Regions from separate parts of the Homo sapiens genome. Here all the other regions are linked to region 3. Evidence: promoter capture Hi-C in human tissues and cell types (Jung and others, 2019). All regions are on one chromosome and are shown on one strand. The core of a region is centred on a gene start or on the middle of the fragment in contact, and the rest is flanking DNA. Distances in the headings are between cores, read along the strand shown. Region 1 overlaps PRRX2 (paired related homeobox 2). Region 2 holds the start of TOR1B (torsin family 1 member B). Region 3 holds the start of IER5L (immediate early response 5 like). Region 4 holds the start of PTGES (prostaglandin E synthase). Region 5 overlaps PRRX2 (paired related homeobox 2).

Region 1 (3,772 bases), core at 944-3,443, 520 kb before region 3:
GTTCAGACCCTGTCTCAAAACAACAATAACGGCCAGGTGTGGCTCTGCAATCCCAGCACTTTGGGAGGCGGAGGCGGGCAGATCACTTGAAGGCAGGAGTTCAAGACCAGCCTGGCCACCATGGTGAAACCCCGTCACTACTAAAAATACAAAAATTAGCCGGGCTTGGTGGCATGTGCCTGTACTCCCAGCTACTCAGGAGCCTGAGGCAAGAGAATCGCTTGAACCTGGGAGGCGGAGAGCCGAGATTGCGCCACTGCACTCCAGCCTGGGCGACAGAGCGAGGCTTCATCTAAAAAAAAAAAAAAAGCCAACAACAACAACAAACCAAAAAAAAATACAGCACCCCACTGAGGAAGAGCTGGACCCTGGCGGCAGGCTGCCTAAGTTCAAATCCCAACTTCACTGCTGTGTGACCCTGAGGAAGTTACAACCTCTCTGTGCTTCAGTTATCCCATCCAGAAAATGGGGATAACAAGATCTTCCTCCCAGAGTTGTTGTGAAAATTAAATGAAAGAATATATATATAAGGTTCTTAAAGCAGTGCCTGGCACGTAGTAAGTGCTAAATCACGTTAGCCATTAGTATATTTATCTGGAGTTAGGTGCGTGTGCGTTCCCCTCCCACACTTGCTGTATATTGGCTGTGCAGCTTTGAGGCAATTTACTGAACCTCTCTAGACCTCGGTTTGTAACTGTCTGGTGGAGACTTGGGATGCTGAGAGGCAGAAGCAACCATGTGCCTGGCACGCTGAGGTCTCTCTCCTGAACAGCTGCTGTCGGTGCCTCAGAGACCAAGTTCTCTGCTCCCTGGGACACTTCCTCCCCAAAGCTTGCACTGACACACACAGAGCAGAGGCTGCCCTGAAGGTGCCCAAGGAAAGAATTCATCCTTCGTGGATGCTTCCCAGAAAGCTGGGCTGGACCATGTAGAAAGCCATGGCACAGTCACACACTGGATATTCTTTATTCCGGGCGGATGCATAGCAGGTCCTCAATAAATACTGAATGAATATGTAAGTGAATGAATGAATGGATTTTGGCTCCTGATGGGAACATAATCTCAATTCTCTGCTTGCCCAAACACCTGAAAATTTGTATGCACTATACACCATTACAAGCCTTCTCACTTCTGGACCCTCCTATCTGCAGAAACTAATATATTGATGGATATATGTATACACACACACACACACACACACACACACACACATATATATATTTTTTTTGAGACAGAGTCTTGCCCTGTTGCCCAGGCTGCAGTGCAATGGCGTGATCTCGGCTCACTGCAACTTCCACCTCCTGGGTTTAAGTGTTTCTCCCACCTCAGCCTCCCAAGCAACTGGGATTACAGGTGCGCACCACCACGCCCAGCTAATTTTGTGTGTATATATTTTAGACGAGGTTTCACCATGTTGGCCAGGCTGGTCTCGAACTCCTGACCTCAAGTGATCTGCCCACCTTGGCCTCCCAAAGTTCTGGGATTATGGGCGTGAGCCACTGCGCCCAGCCTATTGATGGATTTTTTTAATTGACAGGCCAGAGCATGGGCTAGGGAAATCACCTCCCACAGGGAAATGCTTCAGCCTGGCTTTGCTGGTGCTCATAGTCAGAGGAACAGGCACAGCGGCCTTCCTGTGGGGAAGGGCCTCCAGCATGCCCTGGGAGGGAAGGGACAGTCAGGCTATCCTGATGGCCCTCCAGCTGGGCCAGCATCCTCCCTCTACTTCCTAGAGTTTAGGAACGAACCACCTTGTTTCCTGAGCCTCCAGACACCAGGAAGATTTGATCCCAAGCCCAAGGTTTCATCTCTGGAGTCCAGCAGGCAGGGTGGGAATCCTACCTTCTCCACATCCCAGCTCTGTGACTTTGAGCCTGTGACCGCTCCTCTCTGGGCCTGTTTCCCTGTGAAGTGGGCCCATAGGGCCTCAGATGGGATGGTAGTGACGTGAGGTAGTGACGTGAGGGGGCGTCCACCCAGTACTGACAAATGGCCAAAGCCTTGGCTGCCCAGTCTGGGTTGTCTCAACCTCTGCCCACACGCGCCTAGCAGGGATTAGTCTCTGAGTTGATGTGCATGGCTGACACCCCCACCCTACCCAGCATCCCAGCTCCCCTTTTCCGGAACAAGGAAGGCAGGCGTGGCGGGAAAAACCCGCTCTTGCCACGTGTGTTTCACCAAACACCCTCCTCCCGATCATGGGGAAGGGCTGCACACCAGGGGGAACTCGGGGAACTGCTGAGTCCCAAGCCCTGGGCAAGCCCTCTTCTCTGCAGCCAGACTGGGTTGGCCTGGCCCAGCCCGGCCTGGCAGCACCACCGCCTGGTCTTACGCTTCCTTTTGGTGGAGAACCATGGAGACAGAGCCTAAGTGCCCCCGCCCCCCCCCCCCCCCGCCCCATCCAACCACCCATTTCTCCTAAGCTCCCCTGCTGGGAGCTCCCAGCTCCACTGCTCACTTTATAGGCCCTGCGAGGGGGCCCAGAGAGCTGAAGGGGCTGGTCCAGAAAGGCAGAGCACCCCGAAGCTGCCTGGGGACGGGAAGGCTCGGTGCTGACAGCAGCCAGGACCAGGGACCACCTTGTGGTTAAGACAGATTTGGTGCGGAGCTGGGACCGGCCTCAATGAAGCCCTTGTACTCACCCAGTGGGTGAAAAGCCCCCTTCCGAATCCCGGCGCTTAAAACCCTCCAACCTCCACGCTCCCCTCCCCCACCCACATTTTGGCGTTTCTCGCATGCCCCAAAGGCCTCATCTTAGGGGAAGCTCTGACTCAGAATTTTGAAAAATCTTACGCACAAACTTAGGAAAACAAACTTCGGGGGGCGGGGAAGCGTCCCCAGCCCTTTGTGGGGTGGAGACAGCGGGGGCGCTAGCAGGGGGGCAGGTTTCTGAGAAGCCATCTTTCCCTCCCCCGGGACAGGGCCGAGGGGCGAGGCGGACCCCACCCGTCTCGTGGGTGGCTTTCCCATCTGGACGGGGAGCTGGCTTGCTGGGCGGGGGTCTCCCCTCCGCACGCGCGGGTCTGGGGTCGGTCCGAAATCCAGGGGATGCCAGGGCCGGCGCGCCAGCCGCCGCCGCCCAGCCCGGCCATGTGCGCGCCAGCCAGTGCGTGCGAGCGCGCCGCGCTGGTGGCGGCCAGAGCGGCGCCGCGGCACATCTGGTTCCAGACGAGCCCCTGGCGCCTGCCTCGCCGCAGTCCCGCGGCCCAGACACACAGACGTTAATAGATCCCGCGCCCAGCCCCGCGCTGCCCGCGCCGCCGCCGCCCAGCTGCTCCGAGGGTGCGCGCCCCGGCCGGGCGGGAGGGGGCACGGCCTAGGGGAGGGGGAGCGGGACGCAGCGCTCCCCTGCAGCCCAGCCAGCTCCCTCCTCGCCTTCCTTCCAGCTCAGACACCTCCCTCTCCACTCCCGCTCTCCAGGCAGGTCCCGGGTGGGAGCCAGGACTGACTGCTCTTTCCTATCCTGGCACCGAGTGCAAGGGAATCCAACCCCCGATTAGTGACAAAGGCAGTTCCTACGTGTCCAGCTCCGGCCAAGGCCAAGGCTAAGGGCCAGGCCGGGCCGGGCGCCTATGGGCGTGTCTCCACACACGGTAACCCTATGAGGCAGGTACTGCTGCTACCGTCCCCGTTTAACAGTCGGGATAACCGAGACTAGGGAGGGAGGTCAGTCGCCCAAGGTCACACAGCGAGAAAGCTGCAGAGCGGCCATTCAGCTGGTCTATCGGACTCTGGCCCCAGGGGGGTCCGCGCTGCACCCCCTCTTCAACTG
Region 2 (3,954 bases), core at 794-3,293, 620 kb before region 3:
CGCCTTGGCGGATCCCAAAGTGCTGGGATTACAGGCGTGAGCCACTGCACCTGGCCCTGACTACATCTCTCTTTTTTTTTTTTTTTTCTGAGACAGAGTCTCACTGTGTCGCCCAGGCTGGAGTGCAGTGGCGCGATCTCGGCTCAGTGCAAGCTCCGCCTCCCGGGTTCAGGCCATTCTCCTGCCTCAGCCTCCCGAGTAGCTGGGACAACAGGTGCCCGCCACCATCCCCGGCTAATTTTTTGTATTTTTAGTAGAGACGGGGTCTCACCGTGTTAGCCAGGATGGTCTCCATCTCCTGACCTCGTGATCCGCCCCCCTCGGCCTCCGAAAGTGCTGGGATTACAGGCGTGAGCCACTGTGCCAGGCCTTTTTTTTTTTTTTTTTTTTGAGACCGAGTACGGTGGCGCGATCTCAGCTCACTGCAACCTCTGCCACCCAGGTTCAAGCGATTCTCCTGCCTCAGCCTCCCAAGTAGCTGGGATTACAGGTGCGTGCCACCGTGCTCAGGTAATTTTGGTACTTTTAGGTAGAGATGGGGTTTCACCATGTTGGCCAGGCTGGTCTCAAACTCCTGGCCTCAAATGATCCGCCCGCCTCGGCTTCCCCAAAATGCTGGGATTACAGGCGTGAGCCACGGCGCCAGGCCCTTGGCTCCCCATCTTTTAATGGAAATAACATCCCCTACCCCACTGGACTGTTTTGGAACCAAGTAAGAGAAATGTTGTAGGAGAGCTTTGTAACTACCTGGACTAAGTGTGCCTTAACTCAGTGGAGCCGGGGGCTACAGCAACACAAAGGAAAGAGAAGCAGAGGCCAGAGTTAGTGAGCAGGTCACCCGGACCAGTCCGACTGGCCTGCAGACGAGATAATAGCGGGTTCTCTTGCCTGGTACAGTTTTATCTTCTGCTCATGAGGGAAGTGCAGAGTCGATACAAACAGGTGGACAAAGTTACTCTTCAGACCTTTTGGGTGAAGATTTTCAGCCACAATTTGACTGACAAAATTCTTGCCTGTGCCAGCCCAGCCGTGTAAGGAAAGGGTCAGTGGTTTCTTGGGATTTTTGTTGTTCCTGAAGCCAGTCAGCGCCTTGAAAATCACTTCCGTGGCTAGATGCTGTCCAAACAGCTTCTCCTCCAAATCCAGCTTGAGAGCTGCAAGAACAGCCCCAGAACAAAGAGAGAAACAGACCTTAAAAATGCATCAGCAACGCAGCACTTTCTTAGCTGGCCAAAGCAAGAAGCACAGATTATCCAGGGACACAGCAGGGTGTCTGCCACACCCTAGGGCCGAGGCAGTCAAACGATGCCACTTTCAAGATTATGTGGAGGTCCTTAACGCTTCGGGGTCTGATAAGGAAGCTAAATGTTCATTCATTCAGAGATGAACCATCGCTTGACTGAGCGCTTGCTAATCCCAGCCACCCTTGCTGACCTGCAGGAAAACCAGGGGCCAAATGTGGGCTTTCTGGGCGACGCAGCACGTCTGAAAACTACTTAATAGGGTTGGCAGGGCGCAGAAGGGCCGCCCGCCTACTTTCCGTTTCTTCCACCTGTGATCCCAAGGAACGGGAGCTTTAGAAAGGCGCTGGGGCAGCCCCACGATCTGGAGACTGTTTGCGAAGGCACCGCTTCTGCGTTCCCGCGAACGGTTCCGGGGCCGCCCCATCCGCTCCCCGCCCACCCCAGCTGGGACCACCGCCGTCTAGATGCCACGGGCCCGGTCCGTGCCAGGCGCCCACGAGGCCGTCCCTCCGCGCCCCCGCGCCCCCGCGCCCCCCGCAGCGCCGACCCACAGCTCGCGCGCGCGCCGTACCCGAAGCGTTGAGCGGCCGCTCCTCGCGGCAGCACTCGGCGAAGCGGCAGTAGATGTCATTGTAGGACAGGTAGCCGGTGATGGCCGACGCGGCCCCGATGGCTAGGCCCACGGTGATGGGCTCGAACGCCGCCACCACTCGGGCCGCCAGCAGCAGCGCCAGCGCCGCCGCGCCCCGGAGCCACCCAGCCCGCAACATCCCGCTCCTCGAAGCCCGCAGAAGCCACTGAGCCAGGCGCCCCGCGGCCAAGCGGCAGGACGGACTTCCTCTCGTGCGTCACTTCCGCCCCGCAGACCCGCCCACTCCCTTGGGGGCGGCCATGTTGGTGAGGGGCGGAGAGGAGGGCGGTGCCATCGTTCTTGGGAGTGGTCCGAAGGTGTAGGAGACTGTTTTGTTTCCCTTTTCTTTTAAAAAAATTTTTTCGGGCCGGGCGCGGTGGCTCACGCCTGTAATCCCAGGACTTTGGGAGGCCGAGCCGAGATCACGCCATTGCACTCCAGCCTGGGCAACAAGAGTGAAAAAATATCTAAAAAAAAAAAAAAAAATTTTTTTTTTTTGGCCGGGCGCCGTGGCTCACGCCTGTAATCCCAGCACTTTGGGAAGCTGAAGCGGGCGGATCACCTGATGTCAGGAGTTCGAGACCAGCCTGCTCAACGTGGCGAAACCCCGTCTCTACTAAAAATACAAAAAATTAGATGGGTGTGGTGGCGGGCGCCTGTAATCCCAGCTACTCGGGAGGTTGAGGCAGGAGAATCTCTTGAACCCAGGAGGCGGAGGTTGCAGTTAGCCGAGATCGTGCCACTGCACTCCAGCCTGGGCGACAAGAGCGAAACTGTCTCAAAAAAAAAAAAAAAGGCTGGCCGGGCGCGGCGGCTCACGCCTGTAATCCCAGCACTTTGGGAGGCCGAGGCAGGCGGATCACGAGGTCAGGAGATCAAGACCATCCTGGCTAACACAGTGAAATCCCATCACTACGAAAAATAGAAAAAATCAGCCGGGCATGGTGGCGGGCGCCTGTAGTCCCAGCTACTCGGGAGGCTGAGGCAGGAGAATGGCGTGAACCTGGGAGGCGGAGCTTGCAGTGAGCCGAGATCGTGCCACTGCACTCCAGCCTGGACGACAGAGCGAGACTCCGTCTCAAAAAAAACAAAAAAAAGCCAAAAAAAATTTTTTTAAACTTTCTTATATTTTTTTCTTATCTGATATGTATATTGGGGACAGGGTCTGGCTCTGTCGCCCCGGCTGGAGCGCAGTGGCAGGATCTCGGCTCGCTGCAAACTCTTCCTCCCAGGTTCAAGCGATTCTCCCATCTCAGCTGCTGGAGTAGCTGGGATTATAGGTGCCCGCCAACACGCCCAGCCAACTTTTGTGTTTTTAGTAGAGACGGGGTTTCGCCATGTGGCCCAAGCTGGTCTCGAACTCCTGACCTCAAGCGATCTACCTGCCTCCGTCTTCCAAAGCCTGGGGTTACAGGAGTGGGCTTATGGCTGGATTTGTTTTCTTCAGAGCTTCTCGGAGCCCTCAAGCTTTGCTTTGTTATCCCTCCCTTCACTTCGCCGGAGGTATAATGTGCGTTTCTTGGGTCGGCCCACCCGCCTGCCTTCTTCCTGAAACAGTTGCGAACTCTCCGTGCTGCGCCCTAGACTGAGCACTGGGGATGCAGCGGCCCCAAGACAGACCTGCCCAGGCTTCCACACTGAAATCCCGAGGTCCATTCTTTCATTCAGCACGCTAGGTGGCAGGCCCCTTGCTGGATGCCAGGAACGACAGCAGAGGAGGGGACGGAGTTGGCCCCTGCCCTCTCAGAGCTGACGGTCTATGGGGGAGGCCGACAAAGGGGTGAGACTCAATGCTGAGTGGGCAGAGAAGTATCGGACAGTGGTACAGGGAAGGCTTTTGTCTAAGCTGGGCACTGAGGGAGTTAGGCCAGGCAAAAAATGAGTAGAGTGTTTTAGGCAGAAAACAACAGTCAGTTTGGAGAACTGAAAGGATTCCACATGGCGGAAGGTGGTGAGAGATAGGGATGAAGAATCAGGCAGAGACTGGAAGGTGAAGTCCTTGCGAATGTTGTAAGGAGTTTGGCCTCTGTTCTGGGGGGTAATAGGGAGCCACAGAGGGTTTTACACAGGAAGCAACAT
Region 3 (3,809 bases), core at 677-3,176:
TTTTACTTCTACGTGTTATCACCTGAGCAAGTTCCACAGCCTGTAGGTCTGTATCACCAATAAAATGTAGGTAGGACATCCTTTATCTGAAGTCCCCTGAAATTTCAATCCTGGCTTCTCTGGGAGGAGGCCTGGAGAGGTGCTATTGGTCACAGGGGCCCAAAGCGTTTGAGATTGTTCGAGGGGGCCAAGGGAAGGACACAGCACCAGCCCTGGGGCCATGTGATCTTGGGCAAGTCTCACGCTGTCAGTGTCCGAGTTTCCTCATCGGAAAAATGAAGTAAACACCCGCTAACTCTGTCTTCACTCTCAACGCCTGGCATGGAGTAGATGCTAAGAAACTTTTGCAGAAATCTTGGAAATTCTTAAGACTAAAGAAAGACCCAGAGACCACAGGGTGGGCTACTGGGTCTCTCCACTCCCACCAAGGGATGAAGTAGGTGCTGAGAACTCAGAAGGAAGCCCCAAAAAGCAGAGACTCAGAAGATCCCCTGAGGAGGCGGTGAAGCAGCAGGACGTCTGGTCATGGGCCTCCCCCCTGAGTCCAGCCCCACAAGGTCCACCTATCTCTGGGAGACTCTGCAGACCTCGTTCATCCTTCAGGGATCCACTCATGGACCCTCCTCAGGCAAACCTCCAGACCATTTCCAAGAGCCTCCAGAGCTGTCTGGGCAGCCCCCACCCCAGGCACCTTTGAAACCCCTGGGAGCAGCAACCAGCCCCCTTCAGGCCTCTTGGTCCAGATAGAGCGCCCCCAGGAATCAGCAATCCTGTCCCTCTCTTCTCCCACTGTCTCAGTCCCCAGCTGGGACCTGAAGGGTTCAGGATAAGAAGGAAAGCTGTGTCAACAGAAGTTAAGTCGGTGAGTCCCCGGGCCTTTGGTATTCACCTCCCGTCTCGAGCGCAGGGTCCTGTCCCAGCTCCTAGCTCCGCCCCCTGGGAACTGTGTGGTTCCCCAAGTCACTCCACTCCTCCGAGCCTCAGGCCCCTCCTCTACAAACGTTAGAGTGAGGCATTGGGGAGTTGCTGGGAAGGGCCTGCCCCATATTAGGCCCATAATAATAGTCCCTATTGTCATTATTATTAGTTAGGCACGAAAGGAAAGGTTACAGAGCTGGTGATTAGGGCACTCAGCGTTTCGGCTCCCAGGACGCTTTTGAGCCTCAGCTGGTCGCGAGGTCCACACACTCCCTGGGTCATGCCTGGCCTCGGAACTCTCTCCATCAGAGAAGGTCAAAATTCACGATGTTTTGGTTTTTCCTGTCAGACAAATGGGGAGGACTTCCCTTCCGCAAGCATTCCCAGAGGCCCCTCGACCAAAAAGTCAAGGAGTCAGGCCCTACATTCTCTGCGGTAGAGGGTACCCCCAAAACCTCGCTCCTTTGATGTTCCCCAGTGTCAAGCCGGCGGCTCCACCAGCCTCCTGTAGAGAGGCCTTGACTCCCGCGGGTCACTCGGGGGGGCGACAGGTGCGCAGGTGGAGGCGCCGCGCCGCTGGGGGAGCGATGAGCGGCGCGCACCTGCCGCAGGTGAGGCCCAGCCGTGCGGAAAGGGGAGGAGCCGTCGCCGCAGCACTCAGGTGAGCCGACCCCCGGCTCCCGGGACCTAAGGCGAGGGCAGCCGCGGGCTTCAACGTGGCCGCTGCCAGGCGACCTATGCTGCAGACTGCGGCCCCGGCGGCTCCGAGTCCCGCGCGGCGCGGCAGCCCCAGGAGAACATTCGAGGCAGCAGCGGCGTTGGAGGCCCGGGGTCCGTTCGGTATTTGAATAGCACAAAGGAACCGCCTTGGTCTGATTGGCCAGCCGAGTAGCCCCGGGGCGGGCTGCGCCTGTCACTCAGGAGACTCTCAGAGCTCCTATTGGCTCTTCTCATGTGGGGCGGGGCCCGGGCACCCGGCTAAATAGCTGGGGCCGGGGCCGGCCGAGACTCATTGCTTTGGCGCCGTCTGGGGAGCGCGAGCCCGCGGGTGGCGCGCGGCGCATGGTGGCGGCTCCTTTCGGAGCGCAGCCGAACCTCTGACCCGGACTCCGTTACCCCTGCCCGGCGCGCCCCGGCGGCCGGCTGGAGGCAGAAACAGCAGAAGCGTTAACAGCAGCAGCGGCGGCGGCTGCTCCGCCGCCGTCTCCGCGGGAGCATGGAGTGCGCCCTGGACGCCCAGAGCCTGATCAGCATCTCCCTGCGCAAGATCCACAGCTCCCGAACCCAGCGCGGCGGCATCAAGCTGCACAAGAACCTCCTGGTGTCCTACGTGCTCCGCAACGCGCGCCAGCTCTACCTGAGCGAGCGCTACGCCGAGCTCTACCGGCGCCAGCAGCAGCAGCAACAGCAGCAGCCGCCCCACCACCAGCACCAGCACCTAGCGTACGCGGCGCCGGGCATGCCGGCCAGCGCGGCCGACTTCGGCCCGCTCCAACTTGGCGGCGGCGGGGACGCGGAGGCGCGCGAGCCGGCCGCCCGGCACCAGCTGCACCAGCTCCACCAGCTCCACCAGCTGCACCTCCAGCAGCAGCTGCACCAGCACCAGCACCCGGCGCCCAGGGGCTGCGCGGCGGCGGCGGCGGCCGGAGCGCCCGCGGGCGGCGCGGGGGCGCTCTCGGAGCTGCCCGGGTGCGCCGCGCTCCAGCCGCCGCACGGCGCGCCCCACCGCGGGCAGCCCTTGGAGCCTCTGCAGCCGGGTCCTGCGCCGCTGCCGCTGCCGCTGCCGCCGCCCGCGCCCGCTGCGCTCTGCCCGCGGGACCCTCGCGCCCCGGCCGCCTGCTCCGCGCCCCCAGGGGCCGCCCCTCCGGCCGCCGCCGCTTCTCCGCCCGCCTCCCCGGCCCCCGCCTCCTCCCCCGGCTTCTACCGGGGCGCATACCCTACCCCTTCGGACTTCGGCTTGCACTGCAGCAGCCAGACCACCGTGCTGGACCTAGACACTCACGTGGTGACCACGGTGGAGAACGGCTACTTGCACCAGGACTGCTGCGCCTCCGCCCACTGCCCCTGCTGTGGCCAGGGCGCTCCGGGACCGGGCCTGGCGTCCGCCGCCGGCTGCAAGCGCAAGTATTACCCTGGCCAGGAGGAGGAGGAAGACGACGAGGAGGATGCGGGCGGGCTGGGGGCCGAGCCCCCCGGGGGCGCCCCGTTCGCCCCCTGCAAGCGCGCCCGCTTCGAGGACTTCTGCCCGGACTCGTCCCCGGACGCGTCCAACATCTCAAACTTGATCTCCATCTTTGGCTCCGGCTTCTCGGGGCTGGTGAGCCGACAGCCGGACTCCTCGGAGCAGCCGCCGCCGCTCAACGGGCAGCTGTGCGCCAAGCAGGCGCTCGCCAGCCTCGGCGCCTGGACTCGAGCCATTGTCGCCTTCTAGGGACCCCCGAGGGCACAGGGACCCGGGGCCCCGCGGGGCTGGGGCCAGACAAAGACTCGGCAAAGGGGCGAGAGGAGGGAACGAGCGGGCGCCGGGCCACTCGGGGCTGAGCTGGGGGCGAGCGGGGGCAGGCGGCTGATGTTTTATAAATTGTAAAATAAAAAAAAAAGAAATCTAAAATCTTGGACTTTATTTTTGCAGAGAGAAAAAGCGCCTATTTAAGTATGCTTTGTGTTTCTCCTACTCCTTTTTTTCTTTTTATTGTAGTGATTGCAGTGGTGTTTAGCGAGGAGCCTACCACGTGAGGGAGGGCTGCTGCCCGGAGGAGGTGCCGGGCAGCCGGGGGCGAGGCAGGGCGCCCTGGCCGCCGGGGCGCGCCGGGGGCGCAGCTCAGGAGGGCGCCGGACCTGGGAAGCCGATTCCAATCAGTTGTCAGACCCGGGAAGCCCGACGTTCCGCT
Region 4 (3,710 bases), core at 517-3,016, 570 kb before region 3:
TTTTTTTGAGACAGAGTCTCGGTCTGTCGCCCAGGCTGGAGTACAGTGGTGCAATCTTGGCTCACTGCACCTCCACCTCCCAGGTTGAAGCGATTCTCCCGCCTCAGCCTCCCAAGTAGCTGGGATTACAGGTGTCTGCCATCACATCTGGCTAATTTTTGTATTTTTAGTAGAGAGGGGATTTCACCACGTTGGCCAGGCTGGTCTCGAACTTCTGACCTCAGATAATCTGCCCCCCTCGGCCTCCCAAAGTGCTGGGATTACATGTGTGAGCCACCTGGCCAAGGTGAGGATTTTGAGGTGAGGGATTCAAAGAATCTTAGAAAACAAACGTTGATGCTTTCTTTCTTTTTTGAGACAGGGTCTTGCTCTGTCACCCAGGCTAGAGTGCAGTGGTGAGAACATGGCTCACTGCAGCCTCAGCCTCCTGGGTTCAGGTGATCCTCCCACTTCAGCCTCCTGAGTAGCTGGGAATACAGGCGAGCACCACCATGCCCAGCTAATTAAAACATTTTTTTGTAGAGACGGAGTCTCCCTATGTTGCCCAGGCTGGTCTTGAACTTCTGACTTCAGGTAATCTGTCCCCCTTGGCCTCCCAAGGGGCTGGAATTACAGGTGTGAGCCACCGCGCCCGGCCTGGTGATGCTTTCTACTGAAGAGTCAGTTGATAGGTCTTTCGGGGAGATCTTGTGATGAAGAATCAAAGCATTTGACTGGGGAAAGAGTTCCAGGATAGTCAAGTGATGCTCAGGAAGTCAGTGGAGCCACGTGCTGGTTCCCCATCCCTGCTATAGCAAATTACCACAGACTTAGTGGCTTAAAACAACACAGCTTCATTCTCTGACAGTTCTGGTGGATGAAGCCTGAAATGGGTCTCACAGGGCTAAAATCAAAGTGTCGGGAGGGCTGCGTTCTGTCTGAACGCAGAGAGTTTGTTTCGTCCCCTTTTCCAGTTTCTAGAGGCCCCTGGTATTCCTTGGGCCATGATCTCTCCTTCATCTTCAAGGCCAGCAGGTTAGCGTCTCTCCTGTCTGACCCCTATTCTGTCCTTTCATCTCCTCTCTTAATGCTGCCTCTGTTTTTATATCTTTTCTCTAATTTTACTGCCTCCCTCTTGGAAGGGCCCCTCTGTATACTCTGGGCTCACCCAGATAAACTAGGATAATTTCTCCCATCTCAAATCCTTACGAAATCCCATGTGAAAAGTCCCTTTTGCCACATAGTCACAGTCACGGGTTCTAGGGATTGGGACATGGATGTCTTTAGGGGTGGAGGGCGTCCTTCAGCCTGCCACAGATGGCAAAGTCATGCCATTGTGGCTGCAGCTCCATTGTCCAGGCTGAGTGTGGGGGCGCATGGCGTGGTTCTCATGCCCACCACCTACCCTGACCCTGCGGAGGTGGGCAGGAGGCAGCGATAATCACCACGTGCAGAGGTCCTGCCAGGTGCCCAGCCTCATCATTCCCTAGAAGGCAGGCACCACCACATGCTCCCACACTGTAGATAAGGAAACAGCTTTGAAACAGATTTGAAAGTGTTTGAGGATTTGCCTGGAAGGAGGGCTCCAGAGCCAGGGACTGGGTCCGGGACACCCGGAGACTCTCTGCTTCTTGGAGCTCCGGCAACTGCTTGTCTTTCTCTTCACAGGAGAAGGGGGCCCTGCTGCCGCTGCCGTGGGGCGGGGCGTGGGCGGTGCTGGCTGCAGGAAGGCTCTCCCCTCCCACTTTGTGCTTTCCCTGCAGGCTGCTCCTCTGTCGAGCTGATCACACCCACAGTTGAGCTGCGCTGGCCAGAGATGCCTGCCCACAGCCTGGTGATGAGCAGCCCGGCCCTCCCGGCCTTCCTGCTCTGCAGCACGCTGCTGGTCATCAAGATGTACGTGGTGGCCATCATCACGGGCCAAGTGAGGCTGCGGAAGAAGGTATGTGCCTCCCTGGGGGTCCCCGGCCTGGGTCATACTTGCTTCTCTCCACGTCCTGTCAGGAAAGCCCCGGGATAGGGAAACATGGCCAAGGTGTGTGCAGGGCTGGGAGGTGAGCACCTCTTCCAGCCCCGCCGGGGGGCTTCCTGCCAGTCCCACGTGTCAGCAAGGCCTGCACCTTCTCCTCTCTGGCTTAAGAGCACTTACTCGCTTGCCGTGCCACCGGGCTGAGTTCTTGGCATGGAGAGAGCCAGCGAGTGTCTGTGAGAGAAGCAGGTTCTGGAGGGTGGAGTGTGGGAGCGTGACAGCACAAAGCCTCTGTCTAACCTGGTGGCTTCCCGGCACGGGAGGTCTGATATCTGGGTGGAGTGGGAACCGGCAAAACAGGAGTCCGAGAAACGTTTAAGTGGAAATTCCCAACTCCTGGCAAATGTCACTAACAAGCCCACTGTAGCCTCCAAAGGCCAGCTCCCAGCCGGGCACCGTCGGGGTGCTCAGCGAGGAATTTCCCCACTAATCCGAGCCCCTGAACCAAAACAACATTAACGAGTCCCAGAGCTGGGCCGGGGCAAGTTCCAGTAGCGTCCGTCACACTGGTTGGCGAGTCTGCAAAGTCATAGGCTGAGCTTGTCGGCTGTCCTGGCGGCAGAATGCAGAAAGACCCCAGGCACCTGTTACTTCCTCCCCAGGTATTTTAATAAAGCAATCATTTCCTGAAACTGTCTCTGTCTTCCCCTGTGTCCAGTTCAAAGGCGAGGTGAGGCAAGGCTGGCTCTGGCACTGCATGCGGGTGGATCCTGGGGAGTGAGGATCTTGGCCACAAGCCAGGCTCAGGCCCTGCTGCAGGTACAGGCAGGATTAAAGGCAGGGCAGCTGCCCAAGTGATAGGATGCCCGGAGGCTACAGCACACTGATAGCTTCTGACTTCTCCCTGCCTTGGCTGGTCCTGGGATATGGGATCCGGGCATCAAGTAGAACAGCTGCATTCACTCATTGAATCCTTCCCAGAGGACCGAATGTGGCCCGGAGCTGAGCATGAGATCCCCGCCACAGCCCTGAGGGCAGGGGAGGCGCCATAGTCATCCTGTTTTCTAGGTGAGGAACCTGGGCTCAGAGAGGAGACATCACTTATGAAGGTCACACAGCCCGGTTTGAACTCCAGTGTCCAGCTTCAGAGCCCACATCCTGTCTTGGAGGCGGGGGTTTCTGTTTTGTTTTTTTTTTCTGCTGTCCAGGCTGGAGTGCAGCGGCATGATCTCTGCTTACTGCAACCTCCACCTCCTGGGTTCAAGCAATTCTACTGCCTCAGCCTCCCCGGTAGCTGGCATTACAGACACACACCACCATGCCCTGCTAATTTTTGTATTTTTAGTAGAGATGGGGTTTCACCATGTTGGCCAGGCTGGTCTTGAACCCCTGACCTCAGGTGATCCACCCGCCTCAGCCTCCCAAAGTGTTGGAATTACAGGCGTGAGCCACCGCACCTGGCTGAGGCCTGGGTTCTTACCAGCAGGCCAGCGATTCCTTTTTTTTTTTTTTTTTTAATTATTATTTATTTATTTTAGAGACAGGGTCTTGCTCTGTGGCCCAGGCTGGAGTGCAATTGTGCGATCATAGCTCACTGTAGCCTCGACTTCCTGGGCTCAGGTGATCCTCCCACTTCAGCCTCCCAAGTAGCTGGGACTATAGGTGTGCGTCACTGCTCCTAATTTTTTATGTTTTTGGTAGAGATGGCTTTTGCCATGTTGCCCAGGCTGGTCTCAAACTCCTGGGCTCAAGTGATCCTCCC
Region 5 (3,434 bases), core at 16-2,515, 540 kb before region 3:
AGGTAGAGGGACTGGCCTCAGACCATCCCTCACCCCTGTTTTCTGCAGATCCCTCGTAAGTGGTGTCACTGGCTGGTGGCACCCTCAGTTACTGGCTGCAAATGGGTGGGTTGAGGGACTTGAGTCTTCTGCTGGCCTCAGCTGTCCTGGGAGCCTGGCCGGGACCTACAGTCTGCACCTGTTTTCTGGGCCATTTCCTCAGCCCCTTCATGGTTAAATGGCCGGAGAGATCCCACGCCTTCTGTGTGCCCAGAAGCAAGGGACTGAATGTCCTTCCATCTGTCCCACACACCCTCTGGCCAGTCTAGGAATCCATGATCACCCATCCTGCCCCGCAATAGGATGGGGAGACGATCCCTGCCCAGGTTCACACAGCAAGGCTCTGCCCAAACATCTGGGTGTCCCCTTGGGACTCAAGATGGGAGATGGGGTCTAGGGTGGGTTTCTGTCCTCCTCTCCCACCCCCCCAGCCCCCATTTCTGGGGGCCCTGCAGGGTGACAGAGGACTTCATTCCCGGGAACAGTACAGATATGAGGGCAGTGGGCCTCCCATGGCTGCTGGTCTGAGCCAGGCCGAGGCGGTCTCCATGCCTGCTGCAGGCCAGAAAAGGGCCCAGGAAGGCCATCCAGCCCTGTGGGGTCCCAGCTCTCATCTCAGCCACCAACATTGTTTGCGGCCCTTACCCACCTTCCTGCAACCTTTTGGGGCTTAAAAAAATGGTTTTATTTCTTAAAGACAAAAGCTTTTTGGTTTTAATACACAAACTAAATGAGGTCCTTGGCAGGCTCTTCCACCTTCCGGCCCAACCCCTCCAAGGGTTGTGGGCTGCAGTCTCTGGTGGCCAAGGACAGAAGAGCTGGGCCCGGCTGCAGGGGCCTCAACAGCCTCGTGGGCTCGGGAGTCCAGGCTGGACAGACGGGCCAGGAGAGCTCATCCAGGAGAAGGTCACTTCCTGGGCGTCTGCCCCCTTTTCTATTGCTGTCCACCCAGGGAGGCGTCTGGGTCCTGGTGGGACTGGACTTCAGTTCACCGTAGGCACCTGGCTGTGGTGCAGGCTGAACTCCTTGGCCTTGAGACGGAGGCTGGCGATGCTGTTGGCCATGTTGACCCCTGGGGTTGCGGGGCCTGAGCTCCCAGGGCTGTAGGGTGGCACTGTGCTGGGGGCGACATGAGACACAGGTCACATGGGTGCGGTTGGCTTCTGGGTATCAGTGCTCGACCCCAGCCTCTGGTCCTGCCACCCCCCTCCTTAGCTTGCTCTCCTGGGCAGCCTTCACCCAGGACTGGGGGTGATTTGGAGCTGTAGGGTTTGGGCAGGAGTCAGAAGTCCCCCCAGCTCAGTGCTGGGACACAGGAGCCTCCATATGAGCCATGAGCTTCCTGACAGCAGGGCCTGGGTTGGTCCATGCCCCCCTCCATGCGTACCCTGGGCCTGGCTCTCAGCAGGATGGAGGCAGAATGAACAGGCACCTGGATTTAAGGATGCCCCTTGGGGCCAAGCGTGGTGGCTCACGCCTGTAATCCCAACACTTTGGGAGGCCGAAGTGGACGGATCACCTGAGATCAGGAGTTCGAGACCAGCCTGGCCAACATGTTGAAACCCTGTCTCTACTAAAAATACAAACAATTAGCTTGGCGTGGTGACGGGCGTTTGTAATCCCAGCTACCCAAGAGGCTGAGGCAGGAGAATTGCTTGAGCCTGGGAGGCGGAGGTTGCAGTGAGCCGAGATTGCACCACTGCACTCCAGCCTGGGTGACAGAGCGAGACTCTGTCTCAAAAATAAATACATAAATAAATAAGGATGCCCCTTGGTTTTCCTGCCCCCTGTAACGATGAATAGGGAGGGAAGTTAGGAGGGCGGTGAGGACTAAGAACCCTCAAGCGGACCCACGAAATCCCTGTCCCCCCACATGACCATGGCTCCAGCAGAGCCACCCTCACAGCCCAAGGAGCAGACGGCGCCTCTGGAGCTGTGGGGTATGGTGGCCCGACTCTCGAGCACCTCCTGCCGACCATGTCAGAGTCTTTCCAGCTTTGATCCAGACAAAACTGCCCCAGAACTTGGCTCTGGGCCCCAGCCATGCCCGCAGGCCAGGGAGACCATTTCCTCAGCCCTCCCAGCGTCAGTTTCTCGTCTGGAGGGTGGACACAGGGCGCTGGGGCCCCCGTGACAGCCTAGGAATCTTCCTGCAGGTTTTCTACTCCCTCAGGGTGATGCCTGTACTTTGCTCCCCCTCCAGATAGGCCTGTTTTCTCCCGGCTCCAGGTGTTCACGCACACACTCACACCCCTGTGGACACGCATGCTTGCACGCTCCTTTGCATACGCAGGCATGTGCATGCACACTCACAGTCATGTGTGCCCACATGTACGTTGACACACACACACATGCCAACTCTTACAACATGCACGTGCAGGTGCTCGTGAACACCCACTCACAGGCACACTCGCCACACATCACTTGGTGTACCCCAGATCCCAGGGGCGCGTGGACACCATTCAAGCTCTCTCCAGACCCTCAGAGGAGTCCAGGCCGGAAAAGCCCTCTGGGATTCCTCGAGCTGCCCCTTCCTGGCCCAAAGGTGTTCCCGCTCTCACCTGTAGGGGGACGAGGCTGTCCAGGAGAGATAATCTGGACTCAGGGCGGTGGGCCGGGGAGCCACGGGCTGCTCGATGGCGGCCTCCTGGCTGTAGGACTTGAGCAGCGAGGCAGAGCGGCTGGCCAGCATGGCCCTTTCATTCCTGCGGAACTTGGCGCGGCGGTTCTGAAACCAGACCTGTGGGTGGGAGGGTGAGCAGGGTGCAGCATGGGCAGGGGGGACCCAAGTCCTTCTGGACCTGGGTGTGTGCCTGCTCTGTCACCAGCCCAGGGCTGGCAGCGTCACCTCTCTGACCCTCAGTTTTTTCATCTGTAGAATGGGGATGACAAATGACGCCTGCTGCTGGGTATGTGTTGGAGATTGAGAACACCAATGAATGGAGAATGAATGGAGAATGTGTTGGAGAATGAGAACGAATGGAGAGGCACTCGGCCACTGGGAGCGAGGTGCTTGCTGAGCACTCGCGGGGAAAGGCGCTTGCTGAGCACTCGGGGGGAGAGGCGCTTGCTGAGCACTCGGGGGGAGAGGCTCTTGCTGAGCACTCGCGGGGAGAGGGGCTTGCTGAGCACTCGCGGGGAGAGGCGCTTGCTGAGGACTCGCGGGGAGAGGCGCTTGCTGAGGACTCGCGGGGAGAGGCGCTTGCTGAGCACTCGGCTCAGTGCTGGCACAGAGTTAAGAACTTGAAACTGGAAAAGGACTTCTTTATCAGAACCCTTGGTGCCAGGCATTGTTCTAAGCGCTTTACGAAAATTTATTTTTATTTGTTTGTTTGTTTGTTTATTTATTGAGACAGGGTCTCACTCTGTCACCCAGGCTGGAGTGCAGTGGCGCA

What was found. The method cuts DNA at HindIII sites, captures the fragments that hold promoters and counts their contacts. A contact is called where the count stands out against the background at its distance.
Region 1: a fragment that was not itself captured here is called in contact with the fragment with the promoter of IER5L in region 3 in 2 of the 25 tissues and cell types used here (H1 embryonic stem cells and lymphoblastoid cells).
Region 2: a contact is called between the fragment with the promoter of TOR1B here and the fragment with the promoter of IER5L in region 3, in 5 of the 25 tissues and cell types used here (aorta, dorsolateral prefrontal cortex, heart right ventricle and 2 more).
Region 4: the fragment with the promoter of PTGES here is called in contact with the fragment with the promoter of IER5L in region 3 in 8 of the 25 tissues and cell types used here (IMR-90 fibroblasts, adrenal gland, aorta and 5 more).
Region 5: a contact is called between a fragment that was not itself captured here and the fragment with the promoter of IER5L in region 3, in 1 of the 25 tissues and cell types used here (dorsolateral prefrontal cortex).

The regions. Positions count from the first base shown.
Region 1 is chr9:129,696,880-129,700,651 of GRCh38, reverse strand. All of the region lies in intron 1 of PRRX2 (paired related homeobox 2), which reads right to left. Among named protein-coding and RNA genes, the nearest start is that of PRRX2-AS1, 20 kb to the left of the region's middle. The HindIII fragment of the contact is 5,585 bases long and covers 1-3,772 here.
Region 2 is chr9:129,801,273-129,805,226 of GRCh38, reverse strand. TOR1B (torsin family 1 member B) reads right to left here and starts at 2,043. Exons shown (of 5, transcript NM_014506.3): 1 at 1,816-2,043; 2 at 889-1,154. The coding sequence starts at 2,014. RefSeq lists silencers at 1,654-1,773, 1,834-1,963. The HindIII fragment of the contact is 20,911 bases long and covers 1-3,954 here.
Region 3 is chr9:129,176,378-129,180,186 of GRCh38, reverse strand. IER5L (immediate early response 5 like) reads left to right here and starts at 1,926. Exons shown (of 1, transcript NM_203434.3): 1 at 1,926-3,809. The coding sequence starts at 2,135. The coding sequence ends at 3,349. RefSeq lists enhancers at 118-1,041, 1,042-1,965, 1,703-1,997 and silencers at 1,722-2,101, 2,332-2,671, 3,622-3,771. The HindIII fragment of the contact is 19,795 bases long and covers 1-3,809 here.
Region 4 is chr9:129,751,098-129,754,807 of GRCh38, reverse strand. PTGES (prostaglandin E synthase) reads left to right here and starts at 1,766. Exons shown (of 3, transcript NM_004878.5): 1 at 1,766-1,921. The coding sequence starts at 1,796. The HindIII fragment of the contact is 20,404 bases long and covers 1-3,710 here.
Region 5 is chr9:129,719,941-129,723,374 of GRCh38, reverse strand. It overlaps PRRX2 (paired related homeobox 2), which reads right to left. Exons shown (of 4, transcript NM_016307.4): 3 at 2,601-2,779; 4 at 701-1,158. The coding sequence ends at 1,023. Among named protein-coding and RNA genes, the nearest start is that of PRRX2-AS1, 3.0 kb to the right of the region's middle. The HindIII fragment of the contact is 3,172 bases long and covers 1-2,851 here.